2 separate regions of the Homo sapiens genome follow, and region 2 is linked to region 1. The links are contacts of gene promoters, found by promoter capture Hi-C in human tissues and cell types (Jung and others, 2019). All regions are on one chromosome and are shown on one strand. The core of a region is centred on a gene start or on the middle of the fragment in contact, and the rest is flanking DNA. Distances in the headings are between cores, read along the strand shown.

Evidence for each region. The method cuts DNA at HindIII sites, captures the fragments that hold promoters and counts their contacts. A contact is called where the count stands out against the background at its distance.
Region 2: a contact is called between a fragment that was not itself captured here and the fragment with the promoter of TWSG1 in region 1, in 1 of the 25 tissues and cell types used here (dorsolateral prefrontal cortex).

The regions. Positions count from the first base shown.
Region 1 is chr18:9,331,913-9,337,942 of GRCh38, reverse strand. TWSG1 (twisted gastrulation BMP signaling modulator 1) reads right to left here and starts at 3,170. Exons shown (of 5, transcript NM_020648.6): 1 at 3,023-3,170; 2 at 591-750. The coding sequence starts at 713. TWSG1-DT (TWSG1 divergent transcript) reads left to right here and starts at 3,474. Exons shown (of 3, transcript NR_183523.1): 1 at 3,474-3,806. RefSeq lists enhancers at 2,570-2,619, 2,382-2,882 and a silencer at 2,680-3,469. The HindIII fragment of the contact is 24,059 bases long and covers 1-6,030 here.
Region 2 is chr18:8,994,901-9,000,930 of GRCh38, reverse strand. No RefSeq gene overlaps it. Among named protein-coding and RNA genes, the nearest start is that of NDUFV2, 100 kb to the left of the region's middle. RefSeq lists an enhancer at 2,877-3,378. The HindIII fragment of the contact is 3,280 bases long and covers 2,051-5,330 here.

The DNA of each region.
Region 1 (6,030 bases), core at 1,921-4,420:
AGATATAACTTCGAAGTATCTTGAAAGCAGATTGTCCAATCCCAGCCAACAACTTGCCTGCAACATTGTGGGAGACCCTAAGCCACAGCCACCTGGCTAAACTGCTCCCAGATTCCAGGCCCTCAGAAACTGCATGAAATAATACATGTTTATTGCACTAAGTTGCTATGTTTTGGGGTAATTTGTTACATAGCAATGGACAACTAATACATCATACTTAGGGTAACAATTTATCTATTATTTGACCAGCTAATTTTTTTTCTAAATACATTCATTGAACCTCTTTGCTATGTTAATTAGATTACACAGATTAAATCATCTGAATAGAGTGCTCATCACCTTGTAATGACATGTTTATACAACAGGATATTATACTCAGTATTGAACTTCTTGAATCTAACCTTGCCTATATATATTGATTGCTATGAGGGTAAAAATCCAGACCTGTGTGTCATGATTCAGTACCTCAGGCCCTGACCCAATACTCAGGTCTTACTCTATATGATATATGCACTCTATATCTGTATATAAACATAATGTTTCTGCTCTACAATATATTTTGATATTAATAAAAGTACTCTTAGTCCTACCTGAATGAGGCATTTGCTCACATCACTAGCACAGAGTGCTTTGTTACAGCTCAGTGATTCTGGAAGCCATGTCAGGAACATCAGGATGGCTAGAGTAAGCACAGCAACATAGTGTAACTTCATGTTTCTTCAAAGAAGATGATCAGTAACTCCCAGGAAACTAAACAAACAAACACAACTTTAATTCAAAGGCAAGTGCTAGGGTAAAAACAAATATAAAAATGAGAAACAAAACATAAACTAAGACTCATTGTTTGTGTCAATATACTTTTTCTTTCTTTTTTAGAGTCTTGCTCTGTTGCCCAGGCTGAAGTACAGTGGTGTGATCATAGCTCACTGCAGCCTTCAATTCCTGGGTTCAAGTGATCCTCCCACCTCAGCCTCCCAGTTATCTGGGACTACAGACAATACCACCATGCCTGGCCTTCAAAAAACTTTTGAGTGATCATTTAAAGATCATTCTCAATGAAAGATTATATAAACATTCAAAAATAAACAATAATTTTGTATAATAATGGCTTCATAGCCATCTTCAAGGACCTAGAACTCTACAGTTCCTCAGACTATCCAGAAATGGTGACTGTGAAAGTAGAGTGAGTATATCTAAACCCTCAGTAACTTGAGAGTATATCAGGCAAATAACTAGCTTCAATACTGCACTGCTACTATTCAACTTTAATTTTAGGTCCATTATTCAACTGTAAGCCCATATAAAACTATTAATATTGTATTATAATTTTAAGATATTTAATTTTAATTCTTAGAATCAAAACAAAATTTTAAATGGAAATTATTCAGGCTTATTTAGACAGAATAAAGCAGCTCAAAGCAAGAAGTAGAGTCCACAGAGTCACTTCTTAAATAATTGAGCAAATAACAAAAGGCTGTTTAATTACTAATTGCATTAAAAACTCTAGGTAATTATTAGAATGTGACGATATTCTTTTTTTTTTTTTTCTTTTAGACGTTGTCTCGCTCTGTCGCCCAGGCTGGAGTGCAGTGGCGCAATCTCGGCTCACTGCAACCTCCGCCTCCCGGGTTCATGCGATTCTCCTGTCTCAGCCTCCCGAGTAGCTGGGATCACAGGAGCCTATCACCACGCCCCGCTAATTTTTGTATTTTTAGTAGAGACGGGGTTTCACCATATTGGCCAGGCTGGTCTCGATCTCCTGACCTCAGGTGATCCACCCGCCTCGGCCTCCCAAAGTGTGGGATTACAGGGGTGAGCTACCGCGCCCGGCCAAGATATTCTTTTAATTCTATTAGTACCACACATTCTTCAAAGTTATTAAGAAGATACTACAGTTCAAAAAGAAGAAGGAAAAAAGACTAGCACAAACACAGTCTGACAGGGGCCAAACAGTATACAGTTATTAAACTTTAAATACGGGAAGATATCATTTCTTCAGGTTAAAACACCTCCCTATCAAACATAATAAATTAAAATAAATGACTACTGACGTAAGAGGGATAAATAGTGAGTTTATGGGGGCATTTATGATTACTCTAAACTTTTATTCTAAGTGTTACAAAGTACATTAAAGGAAAAATAATAAAAGGGTGAAAAGAATAAAGGGCTTTGGACCTGGTATGAGTCAATTTTGAAAGAGAAAACCCTGGTGATCGTTACTGAGGCTCACAAAGCATTCCCTAAAGACCGTTAGTAACTAATTTTCTAATGTATCTAACGCCGCATACCAAGTAGGATGATTTCTGGAGCAACCAGTACATATTTGCGGAGGCCAAATAAGGTTATTTGGAGACTAACTGTCGTGGAACTAGTTTTCATCCTACAACCATGAAAACTGGGATTTCCCCCCTTTCCCATCTTTTACGGTTGTCTTATGAAATGTTCCACAAATTCATCTTACTCCCCAAATTTCACTGGAAAAAGTATTCAAGTAACTACGACCATGTCGAAATCAGGTAATAGAATTAAAGGACTTATCTTTTCCTAAGGAGTTAGAAACCATCATGCATCAAAATTGTTTCGCATACATCACGCCCAAGTTTCTCGTTAAGGGAGATGGCACTGACAGCGACCAGGGCAGAGCCGAGCCTCTGTAGAGCGGTGCCAGGGCCCCGAAGGCGCCGGACGCCCCGCGAGGCAGAGGCCGGTAGCGGTGTGGGGGACCGGGCACCCGGAACCACCCCCACCCCGGCTCGGCCGACGCGGGCTGCGGAGGACGCGGGCCGGCCCAGAGATGGTCTGGACCAAAGCGGCGCAGAGATGCTGCTGGCTCCCGGCGTCCGGCCTGTGCGCCCGCGCCCAGCACCCCCACTTTGTCCTCCGCGCAGCCGGGCCCAGGCTTCTCCCGGCCCCCGCGAAGCTCGCCGCGGCCCCGGGCCTCTAGAGGGCCGAGCTCGGCGCCCGGCCCCTTCCCAACCAAGAGGCCAAGAGGCTGCACAACCCCCCAGCCGCTCCCACTCACCATGCGCCACGGTCCCGCGAAGTCGCCCACCCCTAGATCCCCGCCGGGTCGGCCGAGCCCGGGGCGCGCTGCGGCGGCTTTGAGTGCGAGGCCAGGCCGCGCCTCCCGCCGTCCCCTCAGCGCAGCGCCCGCGAGCCTCGGGCACCTTAAAGAGACAGGCCCGCCCGCCGCCCTCCTCCCGGCTCCTTGCTCCCCGCCCCTGCTCCCCTCTTCCCCTCCGCCCCCGCTGGGGTCCACAGCCGCCAGCTCCCGCCAGGAGGCGTCTCTCACTCCCCCGGCGCTCCTGTCAGCGCGCACGCCCCCATCTCGGCCCCGCCCACTCCCCCCGCCCCTCCCAACGCCACGCCCCCTCCGCGCCACCCGGTTTCGCCCCTCCCTCGTGCCACGCCTCCACCGCAGGCTCCCGCCCGCCCGCCGGCCCGCAGGCCACGCCCCCAGGCGCACCCACCCCAGCTGCTCAACGCGATTTCCCTTCGCGCTTCTCCGCACCGGGATCCCCAGTCCCTCAGGTTCCGACAGACCCTCCTGTCAGGCCCATTCTCCGGGCCCCCTCAGTTGCAGTGTTAAGATCAACAGTGTTAAGATTAAAGCCTTGTGATGTGCTAGCCACTACGCTGAGGATATGCCGTGTACTAAAATTCCTCAGGACTCCTCACAGCTGCCCTGTAAGGAAGCGGCCATGGCCGGGTTCTAGCGATGCGAGGCCGAGGCTCGGGGCGCTGAGTAGCCTAGCGCGTCGCCGAGGAGAGCTGGCACGTGAACCCCTTGTCGTTTGCCGTCAGAGGTAGGATTTATATAAAATGCGCGTTTCCTAGGTCTACCTCAGACCTACTGAATAAGGATCTCCAAGGGTAGAGCTTTCGAACTTCGTTCACCAATTCGATAAAACTTGCCAGGCTCCTTGTGAGTGGCTGGCGCTGAGCTCTGCATCGGAGCTCTGCATCGGGAGTCGAGAAGAGGGGGCGCCATGGATCCGGGCGCGGAGGTCGCGCAGCCTAGGTAGAAGGTGCGCGGTTAGCACGTAGGTTAAAAACATTGAGAATGACACTCAGTTCTTTCCCACAACTCTGGGTTGCTTTTTTTTTTTTTTCTTTTGAGACAAGGTCTCACTCTCACCAGGCTGGAGGGCAGTGACAACATCAGGCTCGCTGCAGCCTCCACCTCCTAGGCTCAAGCAATCCTCCCGCCTCAGCCTCCCGAGTAGCTGGGGCTACGGGCGCGCACCACCACGCCTGGCTAATATTTTATTTTTTTGTAGATATGGAGGTCTTGCTATGTTGCCCAAGCTGGTTTCAAATTTCGGGGCTCAAGCGATCCTCCCACCGCGGTCTCCTAAATCGTTGGGATGACAGGTGTGAACCATAGTGCCCGGCCGGAATTTGCTTTTTAAAGAAGATTCCAGGGTGATTAAGTTAGAGCCCGCTAGACCAGACCGTCCGCGGGGCACCTTCCCTTGGAAATGATGACCTAGTGTCAAACCCTTATGCTGGTAAATCGTAAATGCCTACCACCCACCTTTGTTGATTGGAAGGAAACAGAATGAAAACAGCTGATTGGCTGGGGGTGGATTGCATTACTGATGTTAGCCCACTTTTGTACAATAAATATGGGTTTTAAAAATCATCCTTGAAAATTATCCTAGAGAAATAATTAAGGGTATACCCAAATTTAAGTATAAGAATCTTATTCTTGGCATTATATACTAGTTAAGTGAATTAGGAAACTTCCGATCAATGCACTAATTCAGCCATTAAAAAGTGATACCGCAGATCAGAGGTTCTCAAACTTTTTCGTCTCGGAATCCCTTTACACTCCTGAAAATTATGGAGCATGCCAAAGAGGTTTTGTGTATGTGTGCTACATCTGTTAATACTTTCAAAATTAAAACAATTTTTTACATATTCATTATTTCATTTAAAAATAACAAACCCATTATATGATAACAAATATTTAATGAAAAATAAGTATATATTTTAAAACAGTAGGAAGAACAGCGTGGTTTTAGATTTTTGCTATTGCCTTTAACATCAAACTTAATAGCCACTGTTTTTATATCTGCTTCTGTATTCAAACTGTTGCAGTATCATGTATTATGTAGTTTCTGCTTGTGAGAGAATGAGGGTGAAAAGTCAAATAATGCCTTAGAATTAAAATTAAAATAATTTTGAGCTCACAACCTCCTGAAAATGTCTTGGGATCCCTCCCTAGCAGCCCCAGATCACACTATGACAATTAGTGTTGCAGATGAATATTGCGACTAGAGATATTCATGATACATAAAAAATTTTAAAGTACTGCATAGTTTTTGAATAATTAATTTTGTTGTTGTTTGTTTGTTTTTGAGACAGAGTCTTGTACTTTCACCTGGGCGGGAGTGCAACGCTGCCATCTCGGCTCACTACAACCTCCGCCTCCCGAGTTCATGAGATTCTTCTGCCTCAGCCTCCCGAGTAGCTGAGATTACAGGCGCACACCACCACGCCCGGCTAATTTTTTGTATTTTTAGTAGAGATGGGGTTTCACTATGTTGGCCAGGCTGGTCTTGAACTCCTGACCTGGTGATCTGCCCACCTCGGCCTCCCAAAGTGCTGGGATTACAGGTGCAAGCCACGGTGCCCGGACTAGAGTTATTTTTAAAGTGCTGGAAAGATAATGATGGTATTAGTGGTTATCTCAGTGAGATGGAGTGTTGTCTGTTGTTAATGATGTTTTTTTCTTTTTGCTTGTCTGCATTTTCTGATGTCTTTGCTTGTATTAATTTGATAATAAGAAAAGTAACACAGTTATTTTTCATTTAAATTAAAGATCCTCTTTGACAGGACCTGGAAGGTCAAATGGTAGTTGAGCCCTCAGGTGAATATCAAGTGGTTCCGGATCTCAAATGGTTGGCCATTTGGGAATCTGGGAGCCACGGGGGTCACTGCAGTGGCTATTTTATTTCACCAGAAGACTTTCTGATCTTTGCAAGTGAGAGAGTCTGACAACAATGTGATAGAGCTTCTTAGTAG
Region 2 (6,030 bases), core at 2,441-4,940, 340 kb after region 1:
GCCTAACTCTCCTGTCTCAGTCCACGTGTTAAAACTCCAACTCCCAGCCAGTAAGACCTTCATCTGGGGATGGTCCCCTGTGGGCCATGCTGCTGCAGCTCTTAATTGCCTCTCTGGCTTTGCTCTCTTTTTTATTTTGGATCCGTTTCCTAAAACTTGTAAGCTGGGCTCTGCATTTCAATCTATTTTTAGGGGGTTCTATTTTATCTTGAATGTTTATGTGTTTAGAGAAAGATGGTGTGAGAGGGCAGTAAATCTCTTTCATGTCTATATAATTCACTATATTAACCAAAATTCATGCTGGAAAGCTTGTCTGTCTTCAGTGGTCCCAGGCAGCGGCGGACAGCAGTCTTTCAGTGTCAAAGCTCATGTCCTCTATGGGACATCCCACTATTTTCCTGCTTCCTGAGAGACATCTTTAAATCTTAGTTTATACAGCAGAAATTATTGCTGGATGCACAATTAGGTTCTTCATGGCTATAATGTTACTTTCTATCCCCTAGTCCTCCTTGGAGGATTTATCAGGTTCTTTTCTGCTCTTGCCTTCCCTGGATAAATGTTTTTTTTTTTTTTTTACATCAATTATCTTAAAACGACAAACTCAACAAAAATAACTGGCACCAGGGGAAAAAATTTTGTTTTCTCTATGGCCATTAAAATGTGGCTGGTCATGTTCCTGGGGAAAAAAAGCGTGAAAAAGACACCAAAACCTGGGCGTCCTGCCTGAGATGTTTTTGTAGGTCAGAGTCCTGAAATCTTTAGGTTAAGCATAGCTCCAGTGGGCACGGCAACAGTCACTGCTAGCAAGACTCCTCAAGCTCACATTTCCTTTCTTTTCCACTAGATTCTCAGGGAGGCCTCCCGGGAGCTCTATGCTGACAGCACCAATGAGCTGATCGTGATGGAAAAGCAGCCCCCGATGGGGTTCGCATAATAGAGACTTCACAATGCATAAAGCAATAACAATAATTACAAAATGGGGGAAAATGCAAAGAGCTAATGGATTTTTGAGCTCTATTTTTTTTTTTTTCCTTGAGACGGAGTTTCGCTCTTGTTGCCCAGGCTGGAGTGCAATGGCGCGATCTTGGCTCACGGCAACCTCCGCCCCCCGGGTTCAAGCGATTCTCCTGCCTCAGCCTCCCGAGTAGCTGGGACTTATAGGCATGCACCACCATGCCCGGCTAATTTTATATTTTTAGTAGAGATGAGGTTTCGCCATGTTGGCCAGGCTACTCTCAAACTCCTGACCTCAAGTGATCCACCTGCCTCGGCTTCCCAAAGTGCTGGGACTACAGGCATGAGTCACCGCATCTGGCCTCTCTATTTTCAACAATACAGGTAGAATTATGTTTTTAGAAATTTGATTCTGTGCAATTTAAAGGTCTCCTGCTGATTTCAACATTTGGGGTTTCCTGTAGTTGTTCTGTCTAATCAATTCCTTCTGAAGAAAAAAAATAAAAGATGACATTTCCCCCTCTGCAAATTACTTAACCTGGAAAGGTTTCCCTTAGAAGCTAAGAAATGTTCTATTACTTAATTACTTACCATGACAAACATCCTTTCCTTCAAATGGAAATCTATTGGACAATAACTGCTTTAAAGGCATCCTAATCGTAGCTAAAAGTGACAAAAATGCTGCAGATGAACTTAAATATGAACATAGACTGTGCTTTTATGACATTCTGGATGCTTAAGTTTTATTCTTAGGTCAGCTGTTTGCACAAAAGAACTGGAGAGAGTGAGTGTTCCCCATTGTCCTGAATCTCTAAATTGACCTGTGCTGTTCCACCACCCTGCCACAGAATGACGATAAGATTAATGAGTGCTTTTGATGACAAGGATAGATGGCAAAAGTCCTAGCTCTATCTCAGATCTCCTGTGTTACCTTACTTACCCTCTCCAAGTTTATTTGCTTGTCTGTAAAGAGTCTGACAAAAAAATATGAGGCAACCACATTCCAATCCAAAGCGCTAATGGTAGAAAAAAAAAAATCAGCACCAAACAAGATTAAAGAGGCAGAATTCACTGGGGGCTGAAAGCACCCAACGTCAACAGAGGCAGAGGAGCCATCCCAGTGGATTAGTGGCTGTGAGGTTTAGGGGGCTAGTCACTAATCCGGGATTCTAGAAACTAGGGCTGCAACTAAAAGATAATACATGTTTTGCTCTATACTAGTTAAAATGCTTTTAAGCAGCACAAATATAGAGGCATCTGCAAAATGAGGGCATCCAACCATCTGTTACCATTCCTGATCACCTGAACACAACCTTCCTCTCAGCTCCCTTGAAGCTAGGCAGTCCTGCAGGCTGCAAAAAGAGGAAAGGCTGGGGGAAAGAAGAGATCAAAGAAGAGATGGTTTCTAGAGTGGTCTGGATACATTTGTGCACATACAATAAATATTTTTGGTAACTTCTGTATGAGACAAATTAATACTGTGCTTCATTTTCCTGGAAGAAGGAGGACAAATATGGTATTGGTCTGGATATACTTTATCTACCTTTACCCAAATGTCACTTACTCCTTTATTGATCTACTCATCTATCCATTCAATCAATATTTATTGAACACATTATATGCCATGTTCCATTCTAGGTGCTGGGGAGGCAGATACAGATGTAAAAGATACTCAAATAAAATGCTGTGAAGAAAAAAAAACAAGATAAAGGGGATAGTAAGTGACAGGGGAGATATCGCAGGGTAAGGAAGTGATTTTATTTGAAGAAATGTAATATAGATAATGGATTTGCATAGTAGCTGATAGGGAAAGACTTTGTGTTTTTAAATAACACTCAACTTTTTGTGTTTTTATTCCAATAATCATTCTATAAAAGAACCAGTTTCCCCTATGAAAAAACATAATAAATTATTTTTAAGAGTAATACATTTATGTGTAGAGGTATATAGATATTATATCAATTACAAGTTGAGGAATTAATTTCCAGGATGTCACAGGTTAAGTATTCTAGAAAAAGATGCTAGGTTGAAATTTGATGGGCACCGTGTTTGTTAGAGATCGACACCTATGGAAAGGAGACGAAGGAAGCAGGGTTTCTTTAGGGGAGTGGTCGAACTACAATGCAGCTCAGCAATGCTACCCTGTGGAGAGCTCGGGAGTGTCAATGGCTTGCCAGAGCAGGACCATGGTGGGCTGAAATGGCTGGACCTTTATACCCTACAACAATTGATCAATGGATATGGGTCACAGGAAGAGCATACTCTTGGGCAAGGCAGCTCTCTGCAACTGAGGCAAGAGACAGCTGCCACAAATCTTCCTTGAAAGGGTTGCAGGCAGTACATCTTCATGTCCCCCACATAAGGATATCTATGTGGCAAGCTAGGAGAAATACTTGCAACATAGTAACAGGTAGATATAAGATGTTAAAAGCCAAATAGACCTTAGGAATCAAGGAATGAAAAAAATTAACACTACAATTTAATATATATATATACACACACACACAGCATTTGATTGAGAGTCACAAAACAGATAATAAATATATGAAAAACGTTCAACCTCATTGAACTTTAAAACTATATAAATCAGAGTAATAAGATACCATTTTCTATCAGAAAGAATAAAGAATATCAGAAAGAATAAATTAAAAATGTAGCACTTAACAAGAGGAAGGACTGAGAACATGAGCACTCTTATGCAACTCTTCGTGGGAGTGTAAATTGGCATAACATTTCAGGAAGGCAATTTTGCAATCTGTATGAAAAGTCTTAAACTACACATGCCTGATAAGCCAGCTGTATTAGTTATCTATTACTGTGTAACAAATTAACCAAAGCTTAATTGCTTAAAACATAAGCATGTATTATTTCACAGTTTCTGTGGAATTTGAGAATAGCTTAGCTGGGTTGTCCTAGCTGAGGGTTTCTCATGAGGTTGCAGTTGAGCAGTCAGCTGGGGCTGCAGTCATCTGAAGGCTTGACAGGGGCAGGAGATCTACTTCATGATGGTGCACTCATGGCTATTAGCAAAGGGCCTCAGTTCCTCAGTTCCTCGATGGCTATTGGTGGGAGGATGCTGTTTTGGGCCCCTCCATAGGGCCACTTGAGTGTCATTGAGACATGGCAGCTGACTTCCTTTAGACAAGTGATCAAAGAGCAAACTGGAAGTCACAATGTCTTTTATGACCTACCCTCAGAAGTCATGTTCTGTCAGGCTGGGCCTGGTGGCTCATATCTGTAATCCCAGGACTTTGGGAGGCTGGAGTGGCAGGATCACTTGAGTCCAGGAGTCAAGACCATCCTGGTCAACACTGTGAAACTCCTGTTTCTACAGAAAATACAAAAATTGTCTGGATATGGTGGTGTGTGCCTGTAATCCCAGCTGCTTGGGAGGCTGAGGTGAGAGGATCGCTTGAGCCCAGGAGGTTGAAGCCGAGTGAGCTGTGCTTGCACCATGGCACTCCAGTCTGGGCCACAGAGTGAGACCCTGTCTCAAAAAAAGAAAGAAAGAAAGAAAGAAAGAAAGAAAGAAAGAAAGAAGTCATGCTCTATCATTTATGCCACATTCTATTCCTTAGTAATGAGTCACCGGGTGACTCACTCAAGCGGAGGGGAATTAGCTCCACAGAAGGGAGGGGTGTCAAAGAATTATTGAAAACCCCTCTGTTTGCCCACTGACCCAAAATTATTTATATTCCCTTCCACATACAAAAATACACTCACCCTATCCTAAGACTTCTCAAAATCTCATTTCTAAACAGCATGCAGTCAAAATAGGACATTGATATCTTAATTCATTCCAGGTGCAGATGAGGCTCCTCAGTGATGGTGAAGGAAATACAGCTTCTCCAGCATAGTTGTTCTTGGTCTGAGGACATGTGATGTACCGAGCCAAGCTCTATTTCTGGTAATTTATTCTGTCAAAGCATAATTTTCAAAAAGTTAAAAACATGACTCTCATACAAATATACAATTAGCACATGTCAAATATTTGTTCATTAATGAGAGATTCAGTAAGGTGGTAAAACTGGTTGGGAAAGCATTTTGAGGAACTGGGCATTTATAGGAATTTTTTTTTTTTTAACTGAGACGGGGTTTCATCATGTTGCCCAGGTTGGTCTTGAACTCCTGAGCTCAAGTGATCCACCTGCTTCGGCCTCCCAAAATGCTGGGTTATAGTAATATTTTTAAAAGAATGTTCAAATAGGCCAGGTGTGGTGGCTCACGCCTGTAATGCCCGCACTTTGGGAGGCCAAAGAAGGTGGATCACTTGAGCTCAGGAGTTCGAGACTAGCTTGGGCAACATGGCGAGACCCTGTCTCTATTTATAAAATTATTTCTTTAAAGAAATAAAGAAAAATTTTTTAAAAAAGGATGTTTAAATAACATTGCTAGGTTATATACACAATTGCATCATATGGTGCAGGACAATGGGACCATAACCTTTGTAATAAGATCTTCTACTGGATGGAAATATGTAAGTCCACAGAGAACTCCATAGTGTCTGAGTTATATTCAAATAGTAAATACTAAAGGCAAACACAGGGACGCTCTGTTAGAGAATTAAATAATCTTCAGTGGGCTTTTTAGACAATGCTCCAGCATGTTGTTGAAAGGACATGCACACTCCCTATTAATTTCCTTATAATAAAACAATTTTAGGGAAATTATTTTGCTGACACACATTAATTCAGTGTTTAAGGATGTTCATCGTAGTGCTCTTTGCAAAGCATAGTCTGGAAACTGGCACCTAGGAAAAGGAGACTTTTTCTAGTGTGCTAGCTCGAGTCCTTACCATCTTTACTCCCTGGAACCCTTTCATCTAACCATCTAGTCTCACCAAGCTATTTTCTTATTTTTGCTTCTATCATTTCTATGAAAAGGAAGTGGATATGGGCTGAATGGTGAGCACTTTTGTTCTTTAGATTTTCTTTCGAAGGTCTTCTTTCAACCCTGAAGAAGCGTGGATACTTTTGGATATTATCCCATCCATACCTGAGAGAGTTGCTCTCACCGTTTTTTAGAGAAAGAAAGGCTAAGATGTATTTATTCTGTAAAGATGTATTTATTCTGTAA